Linked DNA regions of Homo sapiens: region 2 is linked to region 1. Evidence: promoter capture Hi-C in 16 types of primary human blood cells and fetal thymus (Javierre and others, 2016). All regions are on one chromosome and are shown on one strand. Each heading gives the region's core, a stretch centred on a gene start or on the middle of the fragment in contact. The rest is flanking DNA. Distances are from core to core; before and after follow the strand shown.

Evidence for each region. Contacts are between HindIII fragments. The CHiCAGO score rates a contact against its expected background, and 5 or more counts as called.
Region 2: a fragment that was not itself captured here is called in contact with the fragment with the promoter of RFX3 in region 1 in 2 of 17 cell types (neutrophils and M1 macrophages); the score reaches 7.9 in neutrophils.

What each region holds. Positions count from the first base shown.
Region 1 is chr9:3,521,963-3,528,341 of GRCh38, forward strand. It overlaps RFX3 (regulatory factor X3), which reads right to left and starts at 4,039. Exons shown (of 17, transcript NM_001282116.2): 1 at 3,785-4,039. LOC124902110 (a long non-coding RNA gene) reads left to right here and starts at 4,523. Exons shown (of 8, transcript XR_007061398.1): 1 at 4,523-4,815. RefSeq lists enhancers at 3,180-3,796, 4,374-4,423, 4,684-4,983 and silencers at 3,484-3,573, 4,004-4,193. The HindIII fragment of the contact is 14,491 bases long and covers 2,661-6,379 here.
Region 2 is chr9:3,243,469-3,249,847 of GRCh38, forward strand. RFX3 (regulatory factor X3) reads right to left here. Exons shown (of 17, transcript NM_001282116.2): 15 at 4,564-4,717. Among named protein-coding and RNA genes, the nearest start is that of LINC01231, 65 kb to the left of the region's middle. The HindIII fragment of the contact is 2,079 bases long and covers 1,272-3,350 here.

The sequences.
Region 1 (6,379 bases), core at 2,789-5,288:
TTCTACCACTTAAAAATAGAATATTCAGAAATAAAAGTTATGTTAAATTACGAATCTTGAGTAGTTCAAAACTTTTACTTTAAAAAAAAAAAACTTTTCCTAGAAAACTCTAAAAGTAGATTTTACTAACAACAAAAGCAAAGGATGCCACCTGCTTTAGACAGCCCTTTTGTCAACCACTGGAAGTCCCAACACAATGCAGTAAAAAATGAAAGTGACACCTGTTTAAAGCAGCCATCTGTCCCTAACAAGCCAGATTTAGTCAAATCCACTTAATCTTGGATTTCCAAAATATGGGAACACTATGTATCTGTGAATAGAGAGGAATTTAAAACATACTTTGTCATGGCCACTGGGAATATATACCAAAGAGTTAAAGGCAAATTACTCAGTTATGAAAACTGTTTTTAAGGTAACTGAGCTCAAATAGAGGATTTTTAGCCAAAGGTTCAGCATTAAAACAAAATAACCAGGAGCCTCTCAAAAATGTTAAAGTTTACTTCTTCCCTATTCTCATTTCTTGTAACACATTCTCACTATGGATACTAAGAACAAAGTAATATTCCTATTACTGTTCTGGAAAAGTGTGTGTGCGTGTGTGTGTGTGTGTGTGTGTGTGTGTGTGTAACTTTTGCCACACATCTGCTGCTATGCCCACCCATTTAAACACAAACACACACACACACACAGACTTTAAAATCTGAAAACCAAAAATCATTATATTCTGCCTGCTAATTTCTTCAGCTGGAGAATACCAACACAATATCAACTTTCTCAAGAAATGAAAAATGTTACCAAAAAGTAACATACATTATCATTTAAACGACGCATAAAATCCAACTTGCCTTTAAGATTCATTCATTTTTTAATTGCTATTGTTAATGGTAAAAAAATTAACCATAATAAATTGTTTAGGGTAAAATAAACTGTTCCAGGTTAAAGCACAGTAAGCTTATAAACTATAACCTTTTATTTGAGTACCAAAGCAGAGTACAAGACTATTTGAGTACTGGAGGAATAATACAAAAAAAACTAACCATCACTACAACCTTTAATGAAAACATTGTGAAACGATGCAAAACTTCTAGAAATTCATTAGTTTGCCATATATGTGTATATGTATGATGCCTACACCATTTAATACAATTCATAGGCAAAACACACCAAAACGACTGAGTTAGGCATTATGACATACATTGAATCACAGACATTTGACTATTCAAAACAAGTTACAAGTGACTTCTATTTAATAGTTTTAGTTTCAAAGCATGATCACTTTTACAAATTTCTATTAGTATAAAAACTGAAAACACAAGAGAGTATCAATACATAACATAGTCCCTTCTAGGAAAAATATTAAGAAAGAATAAAGTAAATGCTAAGTATCTATCCTTGTGTTTAATTTTTAAATTTACCATTTCTCAGTGTTTCTGATTATTTAATCAATTCCACAGCAGCTCTAATAGCAATTTTATCCCACATATATGCTTCAAAAAATGGAAAAGTAATGAAATTCAATTTAAGTTCTGCTCTCAAATCAACTTGTGAATGAAAATCTAAATCACAGAAAACCTGAGCTATACATGAGTGAAATGCCTCAAAAAAAGTTCTCAGACACTGTAAATAAAATATTAAACCATAACATTATAGTATATAATTTACTTAACTGAAAACCTATTATGTAAATGGCATAAGGTCTGAAACTGTCCCAAGACAGCAAAACTCCTATTAACTTCAGAGAGAGTTTATAGGACCCAGGAGCTTCACCATCCAAAAGTGTTCAGGCATTTGACACTCATCTGAACAGAAAAAAAAATACAAGTTAGTATTAGAGATTTGCATGGAACCCAGTTTGGGGAGAGGAGGAATAATTATAAACAAATCTGAGTGCTCTGAGAAAGACTTCTTTCAGAACAAAATATCGTCTTCATTTAAAATAGCAATCACAAGGAAATGAATTGAAAAAGTTTTTTTAAAATCCCAACTCTTATTTTACAAAATATTAGCCTTAATAGCATTATAATTACCCACCCTGCTCGTTGACAATCTCAAGAATAATTAGTACTGTCACATTATTCACAAGCTGCTGTGTCAGTTAAATCAATATATGTTTGCTGTTAGAAAGAAGACTATTTGAATAAGCATTTTAAAACTGTAAATTTAAAACTTCAATATGTGCAACTACAATAGTACATTATATTTGTTTTAGCACACATTCATTATCAAAACTCTACTGATAAATCTATTAACTAAAAGTTAAGCTGAAAAAAATGAACAAATTTAGGGGATCTGTAAAACTGGGTTAACGTTAACCAAGAACCTACTATATAAGGACTAATAAGTATTCAAATCTACAGAGAAAAATAATTTTTAAAAGAAATACTTAAAAAGGAAAAAGTTCTCTCTCCTGAGCAGGTTCAAGTCACTGTCCAAAGAAAATCAAAAAGTAAATAAAAAGAATATGTTAAGTACACACATGCCTAGATCTTAACCAGAAAGAAAGTGAAATATACACACGTTTCAAGTTGAGAACCTTCATACATTCTTTATGAACTTGACTTGAATTTCAACTCTCAAAGGAAAATGAGGAGATTAAAAAAAAAAAAACTCTTAAAGTACCATAACTGTCACAAATAACACTGTGAACTGAGTTCTCACAAAGCTTCCTTGTGTCCCTTCCCTGTTCATCACAAAGTCTCATAATCACAATGAAAATTGTTAACACTCTACTGCGGGGAAGGAGGATCATCAAAGTGAAACGGAACCTCACTACTCCCCCTCCCACCTCCACATGAAGGATAAAGCACTGTCAATAACTACTAACCCAAGTATCACAGATGCCCTGCATCCGGTTTAAATCACAAGCACACACACACACACACACACACACACACACACACACACACACACACACACCAAAGAAGAGAGAGGAGACAGACTTTAAAAAAGAAAAACATCTTTCCCAGTACAGCAAAGAGGGCCCAACGAACAGGCCCCAGGTTTCAATATGTGTGCAAGGGGTGTGTGGGGGGGGGGAGAAAGAGGGGGAGGGAAGAGTGCTGAATGGATGTTAAGACTGTTTGCCGCACAAAGAAAATACAGTTTTAAAAAGAAAAAAGAAAACCATGAAGCTGATGATGGTGAAAGAAGAGCAGCCCATTCAGCACCAGGCAAAGAGGGGCAAAAATGAAGGGAATGGGCGGTGGGAAAAGTTCACCAACGTATGAGGATTAAAAATAACAAAACCCATAACAAGGCCCCACAAGTGAACAACAACAACAACAAAACACCACCTCTTGGGTCCCCCCCTTGCACACTGTTGTCTATTTCGGCTTTGAAAGAAGCAGGAAACAGCAGCGTTGGAAAAGAAGAAAATTAAAGAAAGAACAAATTCTTATCTCTTCACCTGACCCTCCTCCTCAGACCAGACCTAAGGGAAAGATCCAGCATCCGCATCGGAAAACTGTGGCTCCCTCTCCCGCTCGGCTCGCAGCCCCCCAAGCTCCCGCTCCATCCCTGAAGTGCGGCCGGCGCAGGGCCGGGGCCGGCGGGCGGCGCGGCGCCCACACCCCCGACCCAGCCGCGGCGCGCAGGGTCCATTGTAAACAAGCCCGGGGAACAGAGCCCCTCGGCGGCGGCGCCGCAGCGGCAGCCCCCGTGTCAGGAGTGAGACCCCAGCACAGCCACACTCGGCTCGCACACACGAACACACACACGCACGGACACACGCGTTCACACGCAGCCACACGCTCCCACACACATGTAGAGACCGAAGAATATTCACCTTGGCTGTGGATTATTGTGGTGTTGTTGGTGGGTGATGGAGATGGTGGTGGTGGGGAGGAGGAGGAGGAAGAGGAGGAGGAGGAGGAGAGGAGTAGTTGTTGTTGATGGGTAACAGTCGCCAGGACTACGGTGACTATGGCGCTTGATTCACAAGGCAACGGTTGCTATAACTCACAAAAGAGAGAGAGAGAGGGAGAGAGAGAGAGAGCGAGAGGGAGAGGGAGACACTCGCACGGGGAGGGGTGGGGGAGGGAAGAGGGGAGGAGGCGGGCCCGGCCAAGCCGCCGGAAGGGGAGGGCGCAGCGCTGTGACTGACGGCCCCCAAACCCGGGTGGGGTGGCGGGGCGGCGGGGTGACGGGGCACGAGGCCGGGATTCCACCGCAGGACTCCGAAGAGGTGCGCCTATGCTTGGCTGGGGCTGAGGTCACCAAGAGTCCTCTCGGAGGGACGTTACTACACGCGCTGGCGAGGCCCAGGAGTCGTGGTGCGAGGGGTACTATCTGTGAAACGAGGGCTGCCTGTCCCAGCAGCCAGCTTTGTACAGAGACGTCCCGGAGCCACGAGAGAGTAACGGCTAACCCGGGGGAGGGGGTGGCGAGGGTGATTCCAGGCACTTTGTGAAGAAACGAGCTATGGCGAGGGAAGAATCCACTTTGAAGAGCGGCCCCCGCCCTGCCCGATACGTTACTTCCGGGGCGGGGCGGGCAGAGGGGCCCGGATGTGCCGCCGCTTTTTAGTTTCTGAGGCGCCGGCGGTGTTCCTGGTAGCGTCAGCCTCCTGGCTTTTCCTTTTCCTGGACGCTTCAGGGCTCCGCGGCCTGCGCTAGACTGGAGGGTCCGCGTCACTCTCGCCCTCCTGCTTTCCGCGCTCTCACCCGCTCCCGCCTCCTGAGGGCACGACTTGTGGAGGAGCGCGGGCGGCGGGGCGTGAGCGAGCTGCCTCTGCCGCCATCTTAGAGAAGGCGAGCGTGGGGTGTGCGTGGGCGCGAGTCGGCCTCCCGCGGTGCCGCCGCAGCGTGGCGCGGAGAGGTGAGGTCCAAGCGTGTCCGGCCCTCACTCCATAACGAAAAAGCGAGGTCATCACTCCCTATCTACAAGGGATGGGAGTAAGTGCCTGTAGAGAGCAAGAAATTGCCCTGCCCGGAGGCTGAGAAAGCGCATTTGGCGGTTCCCCTCGACGGAAGGCGTAGAGGGGCGGGGTAGCTTACACCTGCCTGCGATACCATCCTGTTAGTTTCTAGTTCTGTTAGTTTCAGCCCTTAAGTGCTCACCCCTCTTTAAAGACCGAACTGGGAGTTGAGCTCAAGCCCGGATCCTGTTACCTGCCGTGCTCTCATCCCCCGTTACTCAGCCTACTGTAGCTGAGGGTCTTGCTGTTTGTGGCTGTATTGAGATAGACGAATGGCTTCCGTCTGTGTTGAATGTTGTTAACACAACCTGCCATCTCAAACACCCGTTGATAAGGCACAGCCTGTAATGCCTCATGGTTCAAACAGACTCCTCCAATTCTCTGCAGACTCGAGTCCAGCAGGCACATGCCCCCAGGCCCTGCCAATACCCAAAATCTCCCAACATTTGCCGCTAAGCTGCTTAACCAGGACAATGACATAGTAGAAGTAGAGCCTTAGGAAGTCAGTTCTCCTCTTGAGGCTTAATTTTTGCACCTGCAAGTAAGGGATTTGGGCCGGCATGCGTTCACCAGCGCTAAAATAATACTGAGCTCATTCTGTGTCCCAGAACTGGTGCTAAGTGTTTTACATACATTATCTCATGTAATCCCAACAACACCAGTGTTAGGTAATATTCGCATTTGAGGAAAAACAGGCCGAGAGTCCTAAAAGTCGGTGGTTTTAGTTTATGGCTGCGTGCCATAGAATACAAGGTTACCTTGTTTTAGGAACCAGCTACTTTGGGTACGTTTTTAAAAGTAATATTGTTGCCTTTGATAATCTCATGAGTTAGAGATGTTCTTACAATAATAATGTGTTGCAGTAGTGAACAGTGGTGAGCCTAGTGCTAAAGCTAAAAGGTTTCCTGACCCACTGTGGTAGTAAGGGCTTCTAGTCAGACAAATGATTGTGTGGTGACCAGTGTGGGTCCCATTTGACATACAGATGGGAAATGAGGTATACGTTCCAGCTTTATGAAAACTGGTAGTCGTTATGAATATTCTCTTTATTATATTTACTGATAAAGTCCTCATTCCTATAATGGTGTGTAGGGCTGTATGTTCACACTACATGGCTCTCTGAATAGCTTTGTTTTTTTAAATTCCATTGTCTGTTATAGTTTGCCTGTCCCGTCTTTCATTGTCAGCTGTTGCTTTTTATTTTTGTCAGTGAACATAGTTCTATTATCCTTACCGCCCTTTTAATTTATTGCTCTTAATCTGCAGGCAAGAAAACCACATAGTGAACCTTGTGCAAAACTGTATCTCAAGAGTATAAATAGGTACTTCGAGGGACTATTAAAAAATAAGTGCAACCCTTGTGCTAGGACATTATAGAATCAGTTTTAAGCTGCTTAAATTTTTTTTTTTTTTTTTTTTTTTTTTTTTTGCCTTACAGATTTGGTCTTTTCCAGAGTTAGGAAT
Region 2 (6,379 bases), core at 1,061-3,560, 280 kb before region 1:
AGTCTTTATTTCAAAACACCAACAACATTTATAACATTGAAATGACAGCATTAAAGTCAATTTAAAAGTAATAGTTTGTATGCTTGTATATATCTTGTTTATATGTAAAACGGGTTGTTCTTTCCTGCCTGCCTGCTCAAATAATGTAAGTAATGTTAATTTTAAAACTCAGTAAAACTGAGTTCACATTATTGAAAAGATACATTCATTGTTCTTAAGTCACCTTAAAAGGAAAGTCTTTTTGCTTGCTTATGAAACTATTTAACTGACACCTTTTCCAAAGCAAGCACCTGTAAAGGCAAAACAAATACCCAGCAAAGTTTGTGACTATTTTGCAGGTTTGCCCTTGAAATTGTTCCTACTCCAATCCTACTCCAATCTGTAGCAGGTCATAAGCATGGCAGATTAACAGCAAGGACTTTGGTGCCAGACTGCGTGGTTTCAGAACCTGATTTCACAATTTAGTGGTTGTGTGACCTTGGGCAAGTTACTTTTTGGTTCTGTGTCTCATTTCTTCTTCTTTTTTTCTATTTTTATTATTTTTTTTTTTTGAGATGGAGTCCCGCTTTGTCGCCCAGGCTGGAGTGCAGTGGCGTGACCTTGTCTCACTGCAACCTCCACCTCCTGGGTTCAAGCAATTCTCCTGGTCTCAGCCTCCCGAGTAGCTGGGACTACAGGCACATGCCACCACGCCCGCCTAATTTTTTTTGTATTTTTAGTAGAGACAGGGTTTCACCATATTGGTTAGGCTGGTCTCAAACTCCTGACCTCAGGTGATCCACCCGCCTTGTCCTCCCAAAGTGCTGGGATTACAGGTGTGAGCCACCAAGCCCGGCCTCTTATTTCATCATTTGTAACACAGGTGTAATAATAGTATCCACTTATAGATCTGTGGTGAGTTATTAACATATATATATGGCACTTCGAACTGTACCTGGCACACAACTGCTATGTAGGTGTTAGCTTCACTTGAAATTTTGACTTTTTATCCTAATTCAATTTTTCCTCTTGTCTGTTGCATTTGACAGTGTTTATTTGGTCTCCCTGGTGCTTGAACGTTAGGTTTCTCAGGAAAACTTCCCCTTGGCTGTGCTCTCACCCACCTCTGTCAGGGCCTGTGCACATTCCCCTGTGCCTGGGGTGTTTTTCACCCCTTACCTTCAGATTCTCTCTTCACAGAGTTAACATCTTTTGTCCTTTAGTTCTTACCTCAAACATCACTTCCTTGGGAAAGACTTCCCTGGTCCTCCCAGGCTAGATTTAGGGCCTCAAGCTTTAAGCATTCTTATATCCCTTTAATTTTCCTTCAAAGCACTTAACAAAGTTTGTAGCTATAGTTATGTGACTATGTAAATATGTATCCCCCACTTGAAATCTAAGCTCCTCGAAGGCTGGGTAAAAATCCATTTTTTTCATCATTATATTCCAATCATGATAGCTTTGGCATAGAGTATCTGCACAATAAAAACTTGTTAATAAATGATAAATCAGTTTCGGAGATCAGAAGTCTAGAGTTCAACACAAGTCAACATGATTTGCCCAAGATTATACTAATAGCCATGACAGAGCTAGAAGTAGAATTCACTTCTGACTCAAAGTCCTTTATTGTTTCCAGGTATTACATCTTTGACTATACAAATCAAACAGAGAACTGTGCAATTAGTATTGTGGAGCTTCTAGAATGACAAGTAAAAGTACATATCAGAAAGACTTGAACTGTTTAAGGTATTCTGGAGTAACTGAGTCTCCCTGAGAAACTGATTTTTACAACATGAAGTAGGAGTTAGAATGGGCATGGGGAGATGGGCAGAGGCTTCCAGGTAGAAAGAACCATTTATGCAGTAGTCCAAGGATGAGAAAACCTTAGTGAATGAGAACAGAGAAAAGGCCACTGTGATTGCAACAGAAAGAGTAGGAAGTGGGAGGCTGATGTTGATCAGAGGGGCAGGGCCAGATCATGCAAGAGCTCATGTTAGTAACACAAGGGAAAGTCACTGAAGGGTTTCAAGTGGGGGATGACACAGTCAGCTTTGCATTTTCACAAGACGATACTGACTGCACTCTGAGGGATTTGAGAAACAGAACTTGGTAATTGGTTGTAGATGGGAGTCAAGATAGAAGGACATAAAAAAAGAATGCTCACGTGTCTGGTATAATCAACTGGGAGGATCGTGGCGCCATTTACTGAGAAAGAGCCATTAGTTGATACAGCAAGACTATTATCTTCATTAAGTATATAATATGCTCTCAGTAAATAGTGACAATTGTTATTGTCTTTGTGGTTGCTATTATTACTCATTATTCCAAACCATTTGCTGTGACTGGGAGTTATGGTGATTTGTATGGATTTCAATGGATTTTGGCCTGATGTGTTACTCCCACTATGTACACAGGCACGTCTGGATTTGGTGATTGGAAAAGGAAGTCACCCAAGGGACCAAGAGAAGGTAGGCTTAGGATAATGTGAGGAGAACATGAGAAAACAAACTTTTTATTTTTTGAATTTCCTTCTCCTTTTCCCCAAATCAAGAAATTTTAGATATGATAGTATGACCATGGCCAATAGATCTATGAGAGCAAACAGGTGTATGAGGCATCAGTGTTGTATGAGGAGATCAAACCTATAAAATTAGTCTGAATTTGCCTTTTGGGGTAAATAATGGATGAGCATAGGCAGGTCAAAGGGCTTTCCTATAAACTGAGTAAGCAAAGAAATCAAGAAGTATGATTAGATCTTTGACCATTTTTTAAATTTAGATTTTACGTATATATCTTTGCCTCATGTAAAATCTGTCATATTCATTTAGATCGTTTACATGTAGTAAAAAAAAAAAGAATAACTATTAGAATGGAGTTGGCACTATAGATTATGTAGCCCATTTTAATTCTGGTGCCGCCTGTGCAAGCATACCAGGAGGTTGCTAAGCCTTCACACTGTGTGACTGGCTCACATCCACTGCCTTTGTTCCCTAGAGATGCAAGGAAAGCAAAGGCCATGCATCAAGATTAGCCACATGGTGTTAATGAGAATCCCCGCCATCATTATCCTATTTATCTTGTTAAAGAAGTCCTTGAGCATATGAGGTAGTGGCAAATGTGTTAAGTATACTAAAAGGCAAGGTCCATTTCTGAAGTCTTGAACCCTGAGTTAAGAAATTTTAGAGTACTGAGTCCACGTGCTACCTGGGCATTTTCCAACAAGGCATCTATAAAACAAGTAAAGAAAGAGGCAATGAGGGGAAGTCAAATATAAGAAAAGTCCAGATTGTTTTGGTCACATGAGGTCCTGCTTACAATGAAAAGCCACAGTGATTCCTGCTTAATCTCACACATATATTTGGCATCATTTAAGCTTTATCATCAACAGGGAACATCATACAAAGACATTTAGATGGATATACAGCAAGGGGTTTTAAAGAAGTGGAAAAGATGAATATTTCAACTGACCTTCTAGGCAAGTTTGACATGCATTTTATTTATACTAGAATATTAGGGAGGTCCTTGAAGTATTTTAATGTATTTTTATTTATACCTTATTATATTAAACTAGGAAAAGCATTGAATAATATCTGTTTTCACTCTTTTTTATTTATATAAGCACATACACATAGCTTAAAAGTGAACATGTCTTTTTTACCGCCTTGGGTAATTTGTCACATTTAATAATCTGGTATGATTCGACAAGGTATAAACTACCCCCGCCTCCTGCATTCAATATAACAAAATAAGCCAGTGCTGAACCATCTGAGCATTTGCATCTATTCCTCATTATATTAACCAGCCCTTGTTATATTCAGAGTTTAAGCTTTTTGATAAGCCATTTTGATGACTATTCAGAAATTCTGAAGAAGAGAATTTTCCCCCTTACATCATTAGTGGTTAGAAGCATATGGGTTTGAAAATCAGACTGTGTTTGAAAAAAAAATCTCTACCATTTTTTAGCTGAGTAATCATTTAACCTTTCTGTGCCTTAGCTTTCTGCATAAACCTCGGATGCTTATTGTAAAACAGAATAAAGTAGAACGTATCTCAAAGACTTGCATTAAGTGCTTTATTACATGTAAAAAACATAGAACTGTGCCTCGCACATAGTAAGTGTCCAAAAAATGTTAGTTATCATCATTACCATTTTTATCCTTCTAAAATAGAATCATTTACTTTGTTCTTGGAGACCGGGAAAGAGTCTACAAAATACATATTTAATCCTTTCCATTGTATTCCCAGCCCTTTGCTTTATCAGGAGCACCAATCTTTTTCCCACTTAAAATATTTTTCATATTCCAGTGGTTCTCAAGTTTTTCTTTTACATAGGTACCTGTATAATATAGAGACACATTCCATGAACTTTCACATGATATAATCCACAATTTTAGAATCTTTTGATTAAGCACATAAGAACAGAGGAATTTAAGGAACTCTTGCAATAACTCCACAGTCCCTCCTGGCTCTGAGGCTGACTTGGTTAGGAACCATGGTTTTAATCAATAATGTATTTAGACTGAAGTGTAATTCTGGCTTATTTTTAATAACCCAGTGGGTCACAGCTCTTTCAGCCTCTCTTACCTCGCCCATGACTGCTATAGGAGTCTCTCCTGTTGCCTGAGCAACACGATGTTCTACTAAGTAAAACATATATTCGTCGTAGAGTAGACGGATCAGGTGGAAGGAGCCAAAGCTAGCAGCACTGCGTAAGGTTAAGTCCCGAATAACCATTGAGCTGTTCCAAGAGAAAAGACAAATATGCAGCTAACATTAGTGACAAGAATTAGCATTCTACCTATTTTTCCTCTTAAAAAAAAGTCAAGCTGGGAGTCTATATGGTTGGTATAGTATAAAACCTGCCATGAAAGCATTTCATTATTGAACGCAGTTGCAACTCATTTAAATAGAATGATAAAGAGGTAATCCTCACGGAGACTTGATCCTTATTCAAGATAGATAGTCTTAATGGAAAAAGTCATTCTACTATCATGGGCAAGTCTGCTGCTTCTACCAAACTCACAAATAAATCAGAATTGAACACAAAAATGTCTGAAAGATTGACCACTCATTACTACCCTAAGAAAAACAACTTGAGTGAAAATCCTATTGATGAAGGTTGGCAGTCTGTCCCCTCTCAGTGATAACGATCTCTGGGGTAGGCCTTAGAAAAAAGATGCATTTCTGCCAGACAAAGCTCACAAAATATAATAAGCAATGTTCCCAGATGTGGCAATACAGAGTATAGGCAAGTACGTACAGGGATTCCAGCAAGTTTCCTTGGAAGGCAAACGTATTAAGTGTTTCCAGTTTCTTAATGATTTCCACTTAAATTAAGGCACATTTACATTAGAAATAAGCACAATAAAATCAATTAAGAAATGCGTTATTTTTGAAAATGCAAACATTTAAAGTATATAATACGAAAATATAAGCAATATTTATAAAATACTTATAATAAACTCTATTATATTTAAAATGGAAATGAGTCCAAAATAAAATCTTGGCTTCAACATGCCAATCATTAAGCTTGTTCATGCACTTCAAATCTTAAAATAGTCATAATTTAGAATCAGAGTGATGTGTGTGTGTGAGTGTGTGTATGTGTGTGTTTCTTATCACTTTCATTTACTGACCTTTTTCTAAAGATTTTTGGCAGATGAACACTAAAACAACCATTGTATTCTCAGGAGAAAGAGGTAAAAACTCACCTATGCCTCGTTTTACAGTAAAGAATTATAAGACATCAGGCAAATGGAAAAACAAAAGACTGTACTTTTGTTTTCTGTTTCATTTTTCAACCTTGTTTAAATAGAGGCTACTAATACATCAAATTGTATGCATTCAACTTGGCAAGTGACAGATCATCATTGTCCATCTGAAACACAGAAGCCTTGAATTCTGATTCTGTCTCTTCATTGACTGTTGATCTCAAAAACATCATTTCCCCGAGATGTTTTTCCTCTTGCATGAAAACAAAACATTGCCTTTAGTCTTATCTAACTTACATGCTTATTTCAAGGATAAAATAAGTTAAAGGATGTGAAATCAACTTATGGATGACTAGAACGCTATTCAAATATAAGTGATTGTGATTATAATACACAGAATAGGAGAAGCTGACTTTCTCATTCTCATTTATTTATGGTGGCAAGAATAGCAATTATTATATGATGATGGCAGAGGACCTCTCAATTCTGTGGATCTATTTACTAAAATAATAATAATAAGAATAAGCACGGGTTTGAAGTTACACAGACCCGGGTTACCACTATGTGATTTCAATTGTGATCATATAATTTTTTGTAAGGTTCAAAGTTTAGCCTAAGAGTCAAATGACATAATGTATGTGAAATCTTAAGAAAACTGCCAATGTAACTATACTGTTACCTACATTAGT